Regions from separate parts of the Homo sapiens genome. Here all the other regions are linked to region 1. The links are contacts of gene promoters, found by promoter capture Hi-C in human tissues and cell types (Jung and others, 2019). All regions are on one chromosome and are shown on one strand. The core of a region is centred on a gene start or on the middle of the fragment in contact, and the rest is flanking DNA. Distances in the headings are between cores, read along the strand shown. Region 1 holds the start of GNA14 (G protein subunit alpha 14). Region 2 has its middle 15 kb from the start of GNAQ. Region 3 overlaps GNAQ (G protein subunit alpha q). Region 4 overlaps VPS13A (vacuolar protein sorting 13 homolog A).

Evidence for each region. Contacts are between HindIII fragments. The study calls those that stand out against the background at their distance.
Region 2: a fragment that was not itself captured here is called in contact with the fragment with the promoter of GNA14 in region 1 in 1 of the 25 tissues and cell types used here (mesenchymal stem cells).
Region 3: a fragment that was not itself captured here is called in contact with the fragment with the promoter of GNA14 in region 1 in 1 of the 25 tissues and cell types used here (dorsolateral prefrontal cortex).
Region 4: a fragment that was not itself captured here is called in contact with the fragment with the promoter of GNA14 in region 1 in 1 of the 25 tissues and cell types used here (mesendoderm cells).

Annotation. Positions count from the first base shown.
Region 1 is chr9:77,645,982-77,650,018 of GRCh38, reverse strand. It overlaps GNA14 (G protein subunit alpha 14), which reads left to right and starts at 1,697. Exons shown (of 7, transcript NM_004297.4): 1 at 1,697-2,349. The coding sequence starts at 2,226. The HindIII fragment of the contact is 8,690 bases long and covers 1-4,037 here.
Region 2 is chr9:78,044,535-78,048,571 of GRCh38, reverse strand. No RefSeq gene overlaps it. Among named protein-coding and RNA genes, the nearest start is that of GNAQ, 15 kb to the right of the region's middle. The HindIII fragment of the contact is 4,371 bases long and covers 1-4,037 here.
Region 3 is chr9:78,017,357-78,021,393 of GRCh38, reverse strand. All of the region lies in intron 1 of GNAQ (G protein subunit alpha q), which reads left to right. Among named protein-coding and RNA genes, the nearest start is that of GNAQ, 12 kb to the left of the region's middle. The HindIII fragment of the contact is 5,103 bases long and covers 1-4,037 here.
Region 4 is chr9:77,303,666-77,307,702 of GRCh38, reverse strand. All of the region lies in intron 34 of VPS13A (vacuolar protein sorting 13 homolog A), which reads right to left. Among named protein-coding and RNA genes, the nearest start is that of VPS13A-AS1, 130 kb to the right of the region's middle. The HindIII fragment of the contact is 5,520 bases long and covers 1-4,037 here.

The DNA of each region.
Region 1 (4,037 bases), core at 448-2,947:
TTCTAGTTATTTCTTAAGGGAGAAATTACTGGTTTGGCCGAAGGGGACGGACATGTTTAAGGCTTCAGATATATACTGCCAAGCTGACTAGCCCAGGAAAGTTGTACAGATTTGCCCTAATCAATATGTTTCATAACTGTTTTTGAAATCTTGCCAACTTTAAACCTAATAGGTCAGTATCAGTAATTCCCGTTAACGTAAGAGTTCAAATTTGCCCTAGTTTTAATCATTTAAAAATTTTTTATAATTTTTAAATGATAACAATTATGATGCAACCATGACTTTGAGAAGCCAAGAGATCTTATTCTCAAATTGTAAATGAATCCGTAAGAGCTAAGAGAGAAGAAACAGGCTATTAAATGGCCAAAGATCAAATCTGAAATGTCCAGGAGTTTTCCTGTAGGGGTCACTGTTACTGTCAATTTATGCCTGCAAGAAAACTAAAATAGTCACACATTAAAGCATGTATGCACATTTTTAATGTCTGATTCCTCTACATTTCTTAAACTGTAAAATAATAAGAACATGCAGCCAGATAGCATCGCGATACCAACTTCTTTATATAATGACACGTACCATTCCACTCAATGTGCTCCTCAGTTTGAATTTATAAAATATATGCTACTCAAATGAAAGGCACTTATGCCTGCTCTTAGTAGAGGAAGCGCTAGCTAATTGCCTAACGCCCCATTAGCATATGGCCTATACTGACTTGAGAAGGAAAGAACGTTCATTGCTGTGGCCAATAGGATCCCCTCTCCCCACCTTCCCTTTTCTGCATCAAAATCTACACAGACAAAAGTCAGATGTTGTAATATGCATTTTATCGTGTCACTTAAGTACTAAGAGGTGCTTTTAAAGTTTTTATTAATGCTGCTCAAACTTGACCCCGACGGTCCAGGATACAGGCCAAGGTGTCAGTGCGGACACAATCGCAAGGCGGCTGTTAGGCTTCAGGGCTGGGCAGGAAACTTGCCAGGTGCTACTAGGAACGTATCAGCCCTTTCTACAAAGCAGGTGTCTTTCCCATCATAAAATGCAAAGCAATCAGCCGTTCCCTTTCTCCCCAGCCCCCTCGTCCGGAGACCGAGAGGATATTTACCCTGGGCTCTTGCAGTTCTCTTATAACTGAACCCAGCGGCGGCTCCTTCTCCGAGCTCAGAGCCAGCAGGCTCAGGCCCAGCCACACTTTACAGGCAAATTGCCGAGCTGACCAAGGGCTTTGGCCAAGCCCGAGCTGGGCCGGGGCGTCCGGGAAGCGGAAGGAGCCAGTCTAGGAAATCCGGGTGTGCGTGGTGGTGAAGCTGGTGGGCAAGCTTCCACTTCAGGTCCGGGGCTTTGTGTCCCGCAACAGACGCTTGGCGCCGCTCCTCTTCCAGCCTGCTGCCGCCTTCTCCGAGCGAGTGAGTTGGCGAAACTCACTCACCTGTCGGAACCCGGTGCCTGGCGGCCAGACGCGCAGATTACAGCAAACCTTGGCCGGGACGCCCCAGCCAGGGAGGCAAGTGTGGGAGCTGCTCCTAGAGGTGCCAGCTCCCACCCCCAGCTCCGCGCCCCCTGCTCGTCCCCTTTCACTTCCAGGCGCCTTCGGCTTGGGGTGCCCAGAAGGGCAAGTCCAGCAGACGCCAGGGCTGCAGGTTCAAGATGCTCCGCCTCCTCCTGCCACTTAGAGCCACAAACGCTAGCGGGAACCTTTCCACTCAGTCTTAGTCTGCGGTCACTGCTGAGGTTTTCAGAACTTTCCAGGCAAAGGCCAGCCAGGTCCTTTGCCTCCAACCCACTCCGCGCCTACCTCCCGCCTGGGGACACCCCTAGGCCCAGGAGATCCTACTCTCCCCCGAGCACCGACGTTCCAACTCGTCTGCGCCCCCGACTGCTGTCCGGCTCCTGTGCCAAGGGGCGCGCGCATCTTCCCGGGGCCAGCAACGCTCCCAACTTCTCGACTCGCCCTCCTCCTCCCCAGAGCGAGAGTGGGGCGGGCTGAGCCCGGATCCGGGGTGCACTCGAGCGTTCCCAGCGCTCGGCATTCACCCCGCCTCAGAGCCGACTTTCGAAGGGGGATTGAGCCTCGGAGGTCCAGGCGTCTTACTCCAAAGCTCAAGTCGGCCCCCGTCTTTTCTTTCCACACCCCTGTGCCCGTCGCATGCTGGCCGGGTGAGCGGCCGGGCCGAGGATTCGGGTGCCCGGGGCCGCGTCGCCCCGTCGGGTACTGAGCTGAGCGCACCATGGCCGGCTGCTGCTGCCTGTCCGCGGAGGAGAAGGAGTCGCAGCGCATCAGCGCGGAGATCGAGCGACAGCTTCGTCGGGACAAGAAGGACGCGCGCCGTGAGCTTAAGCTGCTGCTGCTGGGTGAGTGGCTGCGTCTCCGACTCCAGTGAGCCGGGCGTTTTTCTTCCGAGCCCTCCCGGCCTCTCCACTGGCACCCGCGCGGCCCTGGAGCCCAGCGGGGTGCAGGGCGGCTTCGTCCTTCTCCCCCTCGGAGCTCACGGATGCCAGCAACTTGGGGCCTTAGGTGCCTGTTCTTTCCATCTCTGGCTGGGCGACTTGCAAAAGCAACACCTTCCCCTGCCCCAAAACAGGATAGGGACCTGTAACACTTAACCTCTTGACCGCTGTACCTTATGTGTTCCGGTGTGCCCCTCTCCTCAAAACCCCGTCCACTCCTCCGCCCGCAGCACACCCAGCTTGGGGTCTGTGGTGACCCACATCTTGGGTTCAGCGCTAGCTCTGACCCGTACGCTTTCAGTTCTAGATGAAGCATCTTGAGAATTTACCATGTGCCAGATCGTGCTAAGTTCTTAAGGGCATCACCACCTGGTGATGCGGGCAGGTGATATCGCTATTCTAGAGAATTAAAACATGGAGGCCTGGAGAACTGACCAACTTGCCCTGATTGAGAAAAGGCAAAGCCGATGCTAGGTCAGCTGTGGGGGTGAAGCCCATGCCGTTGCTGCTCCTCTGACCGTGAGCTCCTATGCCTGCCTCCCATGGGGGTCCCTCAGGCCTTTGTGTTTGCAGCGGACCCAAACCTCCCTTGCCCAGCTTGACTCAGTGTGTCCACGTCCTAGGATTCAGCTTGGCTGCCCTGGTGCCTCTGGCAGGTCTTCATCCAGCTCTTTTGGTGTCTCTGCAAAGGTCTGGGTAGGACATCCACTTTCAAACACAGAAAGAACACAGTTTAAGGTTTGCCCAAGTTATGCCATGAGGCAAGGATCCCATCTCAGACTTTCTAGAACGCTGTCAACACATTTGCTGTTTGAGGAATATTTTACCTTTTCTACCTTTCAGACCATGATATCAGCTGTCAATTTTTTTCTAGATAGCCACAAAGATTTCAACTTTTTTTCTTTCACCCCTTTTGAACAGGAATCTTCTCTTATACCATCTATTTATTCATCTTTATTCCTTGTATAGGAATCACCCTCCCAGAAAGCTTCAAGGAAAGAAAAAGTTGATCTAGTTAGTGTAATATAGAGAAGGCTCTCAGCCAGTATGGCCTTCAGACCTGGGCGGAAGAACCCCCTTATCCTTATCCCCTGGGTTTAAAGGGCCCAGTCTGGCCTTCTGGGGGTTGGGGGGGGGTGTGCCCCTCCCCACAGAGCTGGAAGTCTGTAGGTCCAAAGGGGCTTGCTACCCAGAGACCATGCTGCCCCCTCCCTCCCAAGACCTGGATGGAATGAATACCCAGCCCAAAGGGACCCATACCAGCTTCTAAGGCCTGAGCCCTAGAAAAGAAGGCAGACCTGATCCCTGGAGAGCTCACAAAGGGGCAGCTGTTTGCTGGGGCGTAAAAGTGCTTGGAAATGTGGGCTGGGTAGGAGTGGAGGGAGTCCCCGTGGGTGCCCAAGAGGCCCCCCTAGGAGAGAGGGAGCTTGGGTGGGGAAGGGAAGGGGCTCTGTTCATTGGCCAGGTCTGCTATTTCTGTGTCTGACCCATAACTTTGAAAAGTCTGAAAATTCTAAATTGTCCCTGGCCTTCTAGGCTGTTATAAAGCTACCTTTGTCAAGGGAGGAGGAATACGTGAGAATTTGCTAGCT
Region 2 (4,037 bases), core at 772-3,271, 400 kb before region 1:
TTTTTTTTTTCAGACGGAGTCTTGCTCTGTCACCCAGGCTGGAGTGCAGTGGCACGATCTTGGCTCACTGCAACTTCTGCCTCCTGGGTTCAAGCGATTCTCTGCCTCAGCCTCCTGAGTAGCTGGTACTACAGGCGCGTGCCACCATGCCCAGCTAATTTTTTGTATTTTTAGTAGAGATAGGTTTCACCATGTTAGCCAGGATGGTCTCAATCTCCTGACCTCGTGATCTGCCTGCCTTGGCCTCCCAAAGTGCTGGGATTACAGGCGTGAGCCACCATGCCTGGACAAATATATTTTAAAAAATTTATTCGGGGGGGTGGGCACGGTGGCTCACGCCTGTAATCCCAGCACTTTGGGAGGCCGAGATGGGTGGATCACCTGAGGTCAGGAGTTCGAGAGCAGCCTGGCCAACATGGCCAAATCCTTTCTCTACTAAAAATACAAAAATTAACTGGGTGTGGTGGCGTGCGCCTGTAATCCCAGCTACTTGGGAGGCTGAGGCAGGAGAATTGTTTGAACCCAGGAGGCAGAGGTTGCAGTGAGCCTAGATCGCACCACTGCACACCAGCCTGGGTGACAGAGTGGGACTCCATCTCAAAAAAAAAAAAAATTATTGGGGTATTTTTCAAATTTCAAAAGTAAAATGGTTTTATTTTGAAAATAAAAATACAGACGAGCAAAAAATATAAAGTAAAAATTACCCACAATCCCCCTCCTGAGAAATACAGCTGCTGATATTTGATGCACAGCCATCTAAGCACATGTATGTACTCCTATTATGTATATGTGTATATACAAATTTTTAGAACATAATTAGGATCATTCTTTCACATCATTTGACACCTACTTTTTTATTTAACAAAGAATTTTATCTGATATTACTTTTTCCACTATCATTAGGTATTTTTTATGTGGCATGATAATTACTTCATATTCCATCATATGGATATGGTATAATGTATTTAGTCTGTTCTCTAATATTTAACTCCTGGGTTGTTTCCATATTTTGTGTAATCTGTTTTAATTGTGATAAACACTCCATAAATAAATATTTGTTCACATCCTGATTATATCCTTCAGATAAATTTCTAGAAATGTCGCTGGTAGGTCAATGGATATGTGTATTTTTCAGGCTTTATTTTTCTGTTGCCAAATTTCTCTCCAGAAAAGGAATGCCAATTTATAAGACAAGAGCATGCCCATTTCTTCATACTATCACTAATGCTTGACAATTAATTTAAAACGAAAAATAAATCTCCACCAAAGAATATGAATTGATACAGTTTGCAAGATGAGAATAGGAGGACGGGAGATTATATCCAGGAACCGAGAGATCAAAATTAAAATAATCATCTTCTAAAAGCACCAAAAACATGGAAGAAATTAAAAACCTCAGCTGAGAATATGCAAAATAAGAACTATCCCCTTTAAATAATAACATAGTTTTAAGGAAAGCCTTACTGCATCAGTCTGTTAAATGTACTCAATTTTTAATTTCTTGGCTATAATTAGCCCATATTTTTAAATCTCCAATGTTTTAAGCTGTATCTTTTTCAACAAACCACTGAGCCATTAAAGTACAGAGCCATGAAAAATGTTAGTGCCTTTTGAACTTGTTGATGCTCCTAACTACAACTACATTTTCAATGAATTGGGCATACGGGTGTGACACATAAAACAAGATTTCATTGTCTCCAATTTTGCAACAATTACTATGAGATGGCTGTATCATCATTTTCAGTCCCTGCTTGAGAATAAATGATGCCAGAATTGTTTTTCTAGTATGAACAATATTTGTTACATGAAGATACAATGTCACCAAAGTAAATTATAAAGTATAAGACTTTCTACTTTTGGTCAAATTAACTCAATTGACCGTTGACAAGTAGAAAAAGGCCTCTGAAGGCATTTTCTTCCCTTTTAAAGACTTCCTAAGATTTGCAAGAAATTCATCACAAAAGTTTTTCTGGAAATACATTTGTATTTCTTCAAATTTTTAATAAATGTCAAATATTTCATTTATATCATATACATCTTGTTTTGAAAGGATAAAATTTATAAACAGTTCTTATAGCTGAGCAAGAAAGGGAATAAAACATTTTAAAGAACAAAGTGCATTTCTAGGGCTCTTCATTTTCTCACACTTTGTTAAAATATGCAAACACTTATTACTTGGCTCACAGTTAATTAAATGATCCCATGCAGACAGAAACTGAACCACATACTTGACTCTGGTCAAGCAGTTCACCACAATCTATTCAAGAAAAAAGTGTAGTGTTGACCATGAAGCCTGTTTTCATAACCCTAACCTTTTGCAAATCAGTTAAGAAGCTTGACTTGTAGACTGTATACTGTTAATTAGCCAAAATACATCCCATGCTGGAGAATGTTTATAGCTCATACTTTCTGCTGGCACTGACATGACATTTGCATGGTGCTATAGTAAAATAAATAATTTCTGCAGAATTTACTTGATTCTTCCCCTCCCCTCTCTTTAGATTGGATGAACTACATTTAAGTTAGAAATCTCTTCATTTAGAAAAGCTTATTAAGGAGAGAAAAGCCACAAGCTTCTTTCTTGTTAACAGGAATGTGAAACCAGCATTTTTCTGAAACTTCCTAAGATCCTCCAAATTTGAACTATGTTTAAAATAAATGCCTTGGTAAGTGAGCACTTACTTTCTCTTGTCATTTTGCTGGTATGACTGCGTAATTGCTGAAGGTCAGGAGCTGCACCCTGCACAGTCCCAGGAGCACAGCAGATGCCCTACAAATATTTGGGCATTATAAAGTGCCCAAGAAGCCCCTCCAGAAATGAAGAGTCTGTGGTTTTGTCATTGTCACCAGGAAGAGTTGACAGGGTGGCTTTTTACTTACCTTACTTAAAACTAAATTTCCCAAATTCATCTGAGATAAACATGCCTTTTGATATCATTCAGCTGTTTGACATTATTACGTATTTGAATGCACACAAATGATTTTAACCCCCAGGAGAGCTAAATTATAATGACCCTGCTTGGGGAGTGTCAGTTCGCCAACAAGTATCTAAAAGTACGAGTTTGAAGAAGAGGTAAGGTGACCACCCTAACAGCCAGGGCACGCTTAGAATTCCTTGGATTCAGTCATGAGCTCAAGGTGCCACTGCTGTGGAGCTTCTGTAATGACATCATGCCACAGAATCAGCCCTGTCATGTCCGTGCTCCTCCTTCTCAAGCTCTCAGTTGGAACAGGACTCCCAGTCTGCTGAAAATTAAGCCCCACCAGAATTTCCAGAGAAATAGAAGTTTGGACTCCAGGTAAGCTATAGTTAAATGCCTTGAATTTTCTCCCCTTTACAGCATCTCCTCTTTAGAATTTAACATTTGTCATTACCTGGTAGCCACTGCTAATGCTCATGGAAATTCCCATTTCTCATTTCTCCCATTTCCAGTCACATGGTCCATTGAAGTTAAGCACGGCCATGTGACTTGCTTTGGCCAAGGAAATGTGAGTGAAAATGAATGCATCCCTTCCAACTAGAGCATTTAAGTGTTGGCGCTGCACTATCCAGTCCCCTCTTTGCCCTCTGCCTCAACTGTAGATGATGTAGATCATTAACCTGGGATTCCAGGGTGAGGACAATGTGGTTTGGAGCCCTTCTGTGACATGCGGTGGCCAGGCAGCGGAGGAAGAAGTACAATTTTGTTGTAAGACATTTAGATTTCAGGATTATTTATTACTGCAGCATAGCCTAGCCCAATCTAACTGATACGCCTCCCCCTAACCGAGATTTGTGCTCCAGGTCATTTCTTCATTTATGTGAGCCCCAAGTCAGCACTTTTTCTCATTCAGTAAGAGTGGTCCCAGGCCTGAACCTGTTTCCTTGCTTCCATGTCTAACTCTAGCCACTTCCCGTTTGTACAGGCTGGCTCCCTGCTTCTGAACTCTAGCCTCAGCTAACCCTATGGACGATCTTATGTATAATTCCTGTCTACCTATTCCTTCCAGAGTACTCATTCTTGATTCCGCCCAGCCGGCTCCTTCCTTTTGCTAGA
Region 3 (4,037 bases), core at 1,112-3,611, 370 kb before region 1:
ATGCTGTGGCCTCTGAGCCATTCTCAGTTGGTATGACCATGATCAGAGAAACCTTAAGAAATCAGCTTTGCCAGGTGTGGTGGTTCACGCGTGTAATCCCAGCACTTTGGGAAGCCAAGGCAGGCAGATTGCTTGAGCCCAAGAGTTCGAGACCAGCCTGGGCAACATGGTGAGACCTGGTCTCTACCAAAAATACAAAAATTAGCTGGGCGTGGGTGCCCATGCCTGTGGTCCCAGTTACTTAGGAGCCTGGGTGGTCAGGGCTGCAGTGAGTTGTGATCGTGCCACTGCACTCCAGCTTAGGTAACAGAGTGAGACCTTGTCTCAAAAAAAAAAAAAAAAAAAAAAGCAGCTTCCTGTGTTCCTCGTTTGCATTCTGGACAAAGACTCTGTGGCCAAAGAAAGAGCAGCTGGACTCTCATGCTAGTTCTGGAGAAATGTAAGAAAAGCTTAATTCCACTGGAGGTGCCAGGCAGGCAGTTGGCATTCCTAGGCCCACTTTACTCCTGGCCCAGGGCCTTCTCCTCATCAACTTATCAGCGTTGGGCTTCCTTACCTTGACCTCACATTTGCAGTTGAATGAGTGCCAGGGAAAAGAACAGACATAGGGTAAAGTAGAGTAATAGGGAGTCCCGTGGGGCTTGGAAGGGCAGAGGGTGTTGTTGCCAATAGGGGTAGCGCCATTGTGTCTTTGCTGGGCTCTGGAGAGAAGGAGAGAAGAGCAAAGGAGAGGTGCCTGATGCCTTGGATTGATGTTCTCAATCAGGAAGAGCCAGACCAATGCTGCCTCTTCTGGCCGCCTCCACCATCCTACCACGTGTTTTCATCCTCATTGTCACATCCACTGTGCCCTTCCTCACCCAGATGGTGGGTTGGGAGATGAGCAAGTAAGTGTAGACGCCTTGGTGGAATGGGAGTAGTTTGTGTTGCATGTACTCATTCCTGTCCTTTTGTTCCCAGAGGTGGTTAAATAGGTGAGCATAGAACTCTCATGAAGCTGTGTCCCGAGAAAAACCCTTGACAGAGTATAAAGAAAATTTGCAACATGTTTCCTCCATGTTTTTTTTTCTGTCAGCTGTTTCAGGTGATAGAAATGCATCTATTACTGTTTTGAGAACTCTGCTAATCCTGTGATGTGTTATGAGATGTCTCTTGAGACATCCTTGCTCAGGAAATCTGCTTTTGCTTGGCTTGCATCTCCTATAGTAAAATGGCTCTCAGTTTCCCACGGCAATAAATAAATAAGCAATAGCATGAGATATTCTTGCCAGGTAGATTCATGCAAAGTGGAGGCATGTAATGTAGAAATAACACCTTTTAGCTGAGAAAAGGCACCTATCAATTGGATGTATTCTCTTGTGTCTTTTTCATGTTCTGGGCCATTACATCCAAGCCTAAGAGCAGACTTTTTCCCTAGGATTTTTAAAGGTTCCTAAAGTCTCTTTTCTTTCTTTTTTTTTTTTTTTTTTTGAGATGGAGTCTCACTCTGTCACCCAGGCTGGAGTGCAGTGGCGCAATCTCAGCTCACTGCACCCTCTGCCTCCCAGGTTCAAGTGATTCTCCTTCCTCAGCCTCCCAAGTAGCTGGGATTACAGGCGCCTGCCACCATGCCTGGCTAATTTTTTGTGTTTTCAGTAGAGACGGGGTTTCACCATGTTGGTCAGGCTCCTCTCAAACTCCTGACCTCAGGTGATCCACCCATCTTGGCCTCCCAAAGTGTTGGGATTATAGGCTTGAGCCACCGCACCTGGCCTAAAGGTTCCTAAAGTCTCTAATTATGACCGACATTCAAAATGAAGCTGCATATGTTTTGGTTAATTTGAATAATTTTTAATAATTTGAGAGAAAAACTCAGTAGTGCAGAAACAAAAGGTACTTGAAATGAACCTTTATATTTTTATTTATCAATTACATTCTAATGGTCCAAGAATTAATGAATTGGCAAGCACTATCTCCTATTGGAGTCAAGTTTGGCTCTGACATGGAGTCTGGAGGTGGAAGGTTCTTGCTGTCTTTCAGAGCTAACGAATGGGTGTCCTCTGAACATTCTACCTTCTCCTGTTTTGCCATGGGTTACCATCTAAGATGTTATCCAGATCACGTTAGAAACGATTACAAATTTTGGGCACATACCACTTCTTGTAGTAATGAGTCCCATGCATTTTCTCATCTTATATGGGAGAAAATACCTGTATATTGCTTTATCATTTTCAGAGAAACAGTTTGTGTTTCCTTATCCAATACATCTTGGTAAAGAGTGGCATTTTAATGGAGGAAATTACAGGACTTCATCAATATTTCTTTAGGGAAATCCTGATTCAAAGTATATTTTCATGAAAATCACTAGCTCTGTCCTTTGAGAAACGTATTTTTTGTAGGGCTTTCTACTCTAGGCCATGCTTGTTATGAGAACAGATTCTTCTGCAGCGGGTGGGAGGATGTTTCTAAACCCCTGGAGTCTACCTATGAATTGCTACTCAAATTACAGTGTATCCATCTCAGAATTAATGTGTTGTGCATGCCTAGTCCTTACTTGTGGGTTGACACAATGATTTCTATTAAAAATATTCTTTATGTTTTATACTATAATGTATCCTTAAGCAGTATGCTGTGGCCTGAATTTACCTTGTCTTTTATTCTCTTTTTGGAATGAAATAAGAGCACTTGAGATACTGTCATTTGGTGGTTTGGTTGTTTGTAAAATAGTAAAAAAAAAAGTTTGGTAAGGAGAAAAGCTATTGTGCTTAATAGACAGTCCAAGTTTGAGTCGAGAAGAAATGTTTATTTTCTTCCACTTAATGTTCTGACATTCTTAAGAAATACATTATGTTGTTTTCATGCTAGTCTTTGAAAGAATGACAACCCACATTCTGTTATTTAATTACATTATTTTTTATAGCCTGTTTTTCAGTGATTTTGAAATTTTACAAATAATGCAAGTTTTTTGCACAAAATTTAATAAAACTTTTTAAAATATTCATAAATTTATCAAAAATATACCAGTCTAAACTAAGAACCATGCTCTTTTTGCACATTCCTTTATAGTCTGTTTTATTTTTATGTTTTTTACATAGATGTGATCATACTGTACAACTTAACATTAGGTTGTAAGCATTTTTTATGTGGCTATGTAGACTTCATATTAACATTTGAAAAGACTGTATAAGATTCTTTTGAGAGGATGTATATTGTTTACTTGTTTACTCTTTTTTTTTTGTACATTTAGGTTTCTCCCAATGATTTCATTTTAAAAATAATGCTGTGATGAAGTTCTTGGTGGAGATAGCTTTTTAAAACATGCACACACATAATTTTGTTAGAATAGATTCATGGAAATGTTATTTCTAGGTCTGAGGATATGAAAAATTTTACAACCTTGGTTATACACACCCAAAACATATTCTGAAACGATTGTATACAGTTTCCAGCATCATGAACAATATTATTAGAATATCAGTAAGTTAGGAGGCAAAAATGGTACATAATTCTAAACTTTGCATTGATCATTAGTGAGAATGATCATTTCCCCATGTTTGTTTCTAGTTGAATTGCTTCTTTTGTGAATTGTTTCTTCATTTCCTTTGCCTATTTTTGAACTCCAAACCTACAAATGAAATTAGCCTTTTGTCATTTTTATTGCCAAAAACTTAACCCCAGTCTGTTGTTTTCCTTTTGTTTTGTATTATTTGATACAGAAGTTTTTAATTACTATCAAGCCAAAACTGTTGATCTTTTGCTATTCTGTTTTAAAATAAAAATCATGATCTGCTTTAGATATTCCATGAAAGCTAGATTTACTGCCATTGTTATGGACAAAACTAGATTGAATGTAGTGTGTTATACATCTCTGATGTATGGTTCTTTTTCTTTCAAAATGAAGGTGAAATGTACATACAAGTTTCAGTGTCACAGATGACACAGCATAAGCTGTTCTATGTGTAATTGGATTTTTTTCATTCAGTAATATGTAGGATGTCTTGCCATGTTAATATAAATCTTTTGGAACATATTTATGGCTGTTTAGTGTTTCCTCCGTG
Region 4 (4,037 bases), core at 156-2,655, 340 kb after region 1:
TATTAATGTACCAAATAATATAGTAATTTTAAACCTTTAAAATGAACTTTCAGTAGTTATCTGTCTACTTTGGATTTTTTTGGTTAGTAAGCACCTCATTTTACAAATGTAGAATAAAAAATGATACATTTGGTTTACCAAAAATTTTAGAGTTCACAATGTGTTTTACATGAACTATTTTATTTGAACCTCGAAAAAGTCCTAGGTCTATGGAATATGATCCTGAAATGTATTTATTTAGTTAGGTAGTTAGTGAATGGGTCTCATTCTGTCACCCAGGCTGGCATGCAGTGGTGCAATCCTAGCTCACTGCAGCCTCAAACTCCTGGGCTCAACCTCTGACCTCAGCCTCCCAAGAAACTGGGATTACAATCATGTACCAACATGCCCAGCTAATGCAATCCTGATATTTATATTTATAAGACACTGAAGCTAAATGGTTAATATGCTTAGGTCCACACATAAACTAGGAACTAACTCAAAGAGCTAATAATTTCAGGCCAGGTGTGATGGGTCACGCCTGTAAGCCCAGCACTCTGGGAGGCTGAGGCAGGCAGATCACTTGAGGCCAGGAGTTAAGAGAACAGCCCAGCCAACACGGTGAAACCCCGACTCTACCGAAAATACAAAAATTAGCCAGGCATAGTGCACACCTGTAATCCCAGCTACTCAGGTGGCTGAAGCAGGAGAATTGTTTGAACCTGGGAAGCAGAGAGTGCAGTGAGCCGAGATCGCGCCACTGCCCTCCAGCCTGGGCAACAGAGACTCTGTCTCAAAAAAAAAAAAAAAAAATAAAGAGCCAATTTCAAATCCTAGCTGTTACAAATTTAGTCCCAAATCAACAGCATAAGACCTGCCTTAATAGCTGTGATGGTTAATTTTGTATGTCACTTTGGCTCAGTCACAGTACCTAGGTATGTGGTCAAACATAAAATGTTTCCGTGAAAATATTTTTTAGATGAAATTAATATTTAAATCTCTAGACTCTAGGTAAATCAGATTACACTCCATAATGTAGGTGGACCTCATCCAATTGCTTTGTATTGAAGTTGGAGGCCTTCAATAAAAAAAGACTGACCTCCTCTAAGCAAGAATTCTGCCAGCAGACTGCCTTCAGACTCGAGCTCCAACACTACCTCTTCCCTGGATATCCTTCCTGCTGGCCTACCCTGTAGACTGACTTTGAACTTGGTGGCATCCGCAATCATGTACACCAATTCCTTAAAATAAGTCTCTCCCTTTTCCCTCTCTTTACACACACACACACACACACACACACACACACACAAACACACACACACTCTCTCTCTCTCTCTCTGGAGAACCCTAACACAACAGAAATAATGTAAAAAAGATCTTTGAGTTTGGCTCACTTCTAAGTTTGTCAAAACAACAAAAAGAATTTTTAGCTGTTATGACCCCAAGGAGATAATTTGAATCCCACAATATTTAACAAGTTTTACTTGTAACCAAGCTTTCTTTGACTGCATTTCAAAGATGACACACTAATTTAGTGTTTTAAAATTAAGTCCATGTGTACCTTATACATACTACTAATGTTTGGGGTTTTTTTTAAGCTTTCATTCCTTCATTCTTTATTCATGACACTTAGTTTGTAACTATGTAGCAGACACTGCAAAAAGAGTTCATATAATAAGATGAAAATAAATATTACAACTTCTAAACCATGTCTTCCAGTTAGTATCTGTCTATCGCATGCACCTCAAATACTGATTATTAATTGGCACTCTTCCTTCACTTTTGCCAGGAGCTCAGTGGAGGAAGTTCAAAGAACTGTAAGGATCCTGGGGCTGCTGATCTGCAGTATCTACATGTCAGGACAGGCTGTGTATGCAACCACTGAAAATCTGACAAGTCAGAAATCACAAGCTGCTCCACTTGGTCTGGATGCATTAGACTAAATGATTTCACAACCAATTCTAGCCTCTCCCTGGCACAGAAGATGAGGCCCAGGAGAGAACAAATATCTGGGCTCTGGGGTGAGCTGCAACAGCAGCTAACCAACTACTCAGGTGAATTAGAGTAAGGGAAGCCCCAACTTTACCCTAGAGGGTTGGCCTCAAAAGGCAGCTGGGCACTTGCAGATTGTTGGCAGCATCACCAGGACATTCTGTATGGATTCTACCTGGGAAGAGCATGAGAAAGCAGTGTCTTTGCTGCCCCACACAAATATGCCTAATAACTGGGCCCAGTGGGATAGCAACTGCCCCAGCATGTTGGGTGGAACATAATATTTATGTTTTATAAGTTTCTATATGTTTTATGAGTTTCTATCTGTTATCTTACCAATATAAATAGACTTCAAATATTTATCTTAAAAAGATAACTTCCATCTCCTACCCTGTAAGTTAAAGCAGCCATTATTATCTTACACACTAAGATTTTCATAATGCCATCATGTTTTATGCTCTGAATATACGTTTGACTTAAAAGTCTGAAATCTCGGCCAGGCGTGATGGCTCACGCCTGTAATCCCAGCACTTTGGGAGGCCAAGGGGGGTGGATCACGAGGTCAGGAGATCAAGACCATCCTGGCTAACACGGTGAAATCCCGTCTCTACTACAAACACAAAAAATTAGCCGGGCGCGGTGGCGGATGCCTGTAGTCCCAGCTATTCGGGAGGCTGAGGCAGGAGAATGGCGTGAACCCCAGAGGCGGAGCTTGCAGTGAGCTGAGATTGCACCACTGCACTCCAGCCTGGGCAACAGAGCGAGACTCCATCTCAAAAAAAAAAAAAAGAAAAAAAGTCTGAAATCTCTAAAATGATGGTTTTCTCATAATCAATAAAATTTTTACAGAAAGAAATAGAAAGGGAAACTGTGAGGTGGGGAGAAGGATTTGTTAAGTAGGTTTCTTAAAGAAACCTCCCAGAGCATATGTTGCTATCACTTCAGCAAAGCCTATGACACACTTTTGACTTTCATCCAGTCAAGGGAAAAAAATATGAACTTGTGGGCAGTTCCATGAGAGATCTTTGAAGCAATGTCAACCAATAAGAAAGTAAAACTAAGGTGGTGACACATTTGCCATTTTCATTTTCAACTTATGAATTCTTCTAATACTTTCTCTTCCTTTGTATAGATTATTTCATATATTTCCATGGCTTTAAATGCCATCTATATGCTGGTGACACCAAAATTAGTATTTCTAACCTAGATCTTTCCAATAAATTCTATATTAATATATCTAATTGACTACAGCACCATGCCTATTATTTGTGTCCTTCATTGTAGGGAAAAGAAAGAGAGATCAGACTGTTACTGTGCCTATGTAGAAAGGGAAGACATAAGAGACTCCATTTTGAAAAAGACCTGTACTTTAAACAATTACTTTGCAGAGATGTTGTTAATTTGTAGCTTTGCCCCAGCCACTTTGACCCAGCCACTTTGACCCAACCTGGAGCTCACAAAAACATGTGTTGTATGAAATCAAGGTTTAAGGGATCTAGGGCTGTGCAGGACGTGCCTTGTTAACAAAATGTTTACAAGCAGTATACTTGGTAAAAGTCATTGCCATTCTCTAGTCTCAATAAACCTGGGGCACAATGCACTGTGGAAAGCCGCAGGGACCTCTGCCCTTGAAAGCCGGGTATTGTCCAAGGTTTCTCCCCATATGATAGTCTGAAATATGGCCTCGTGGGATGAGAAAGACCTGACCGTCCCCCAGTCCGACACTCGTAAAGGGTCTGTGCTGAGGTGGATTAGTAAAAGAGGAAAGCCTCTTGCAGTTGAGATAGAGGAAGGCCACTGTCTCCTGCCTGCCCCTGGTAACTGAATGTCTCGGTATAAAACCCAATTGTACATTTGTTCAATTCTGAGATAGGAGAAAAACCGCCCTATGGTGGGAGGCGAGACATGTTTGCAGTAATGCTGCTTTGTTATTCTTTACTCCACTGAGATGTTTGGGTGGAGAGAAACATAAATCTGGCTTACGTGCACGTCCACTCATGGTACCTTCCCTTGAACTTAATTATGACATAGATTCTTTTGCTCACACGTTTTTTGCTGACCTTCTC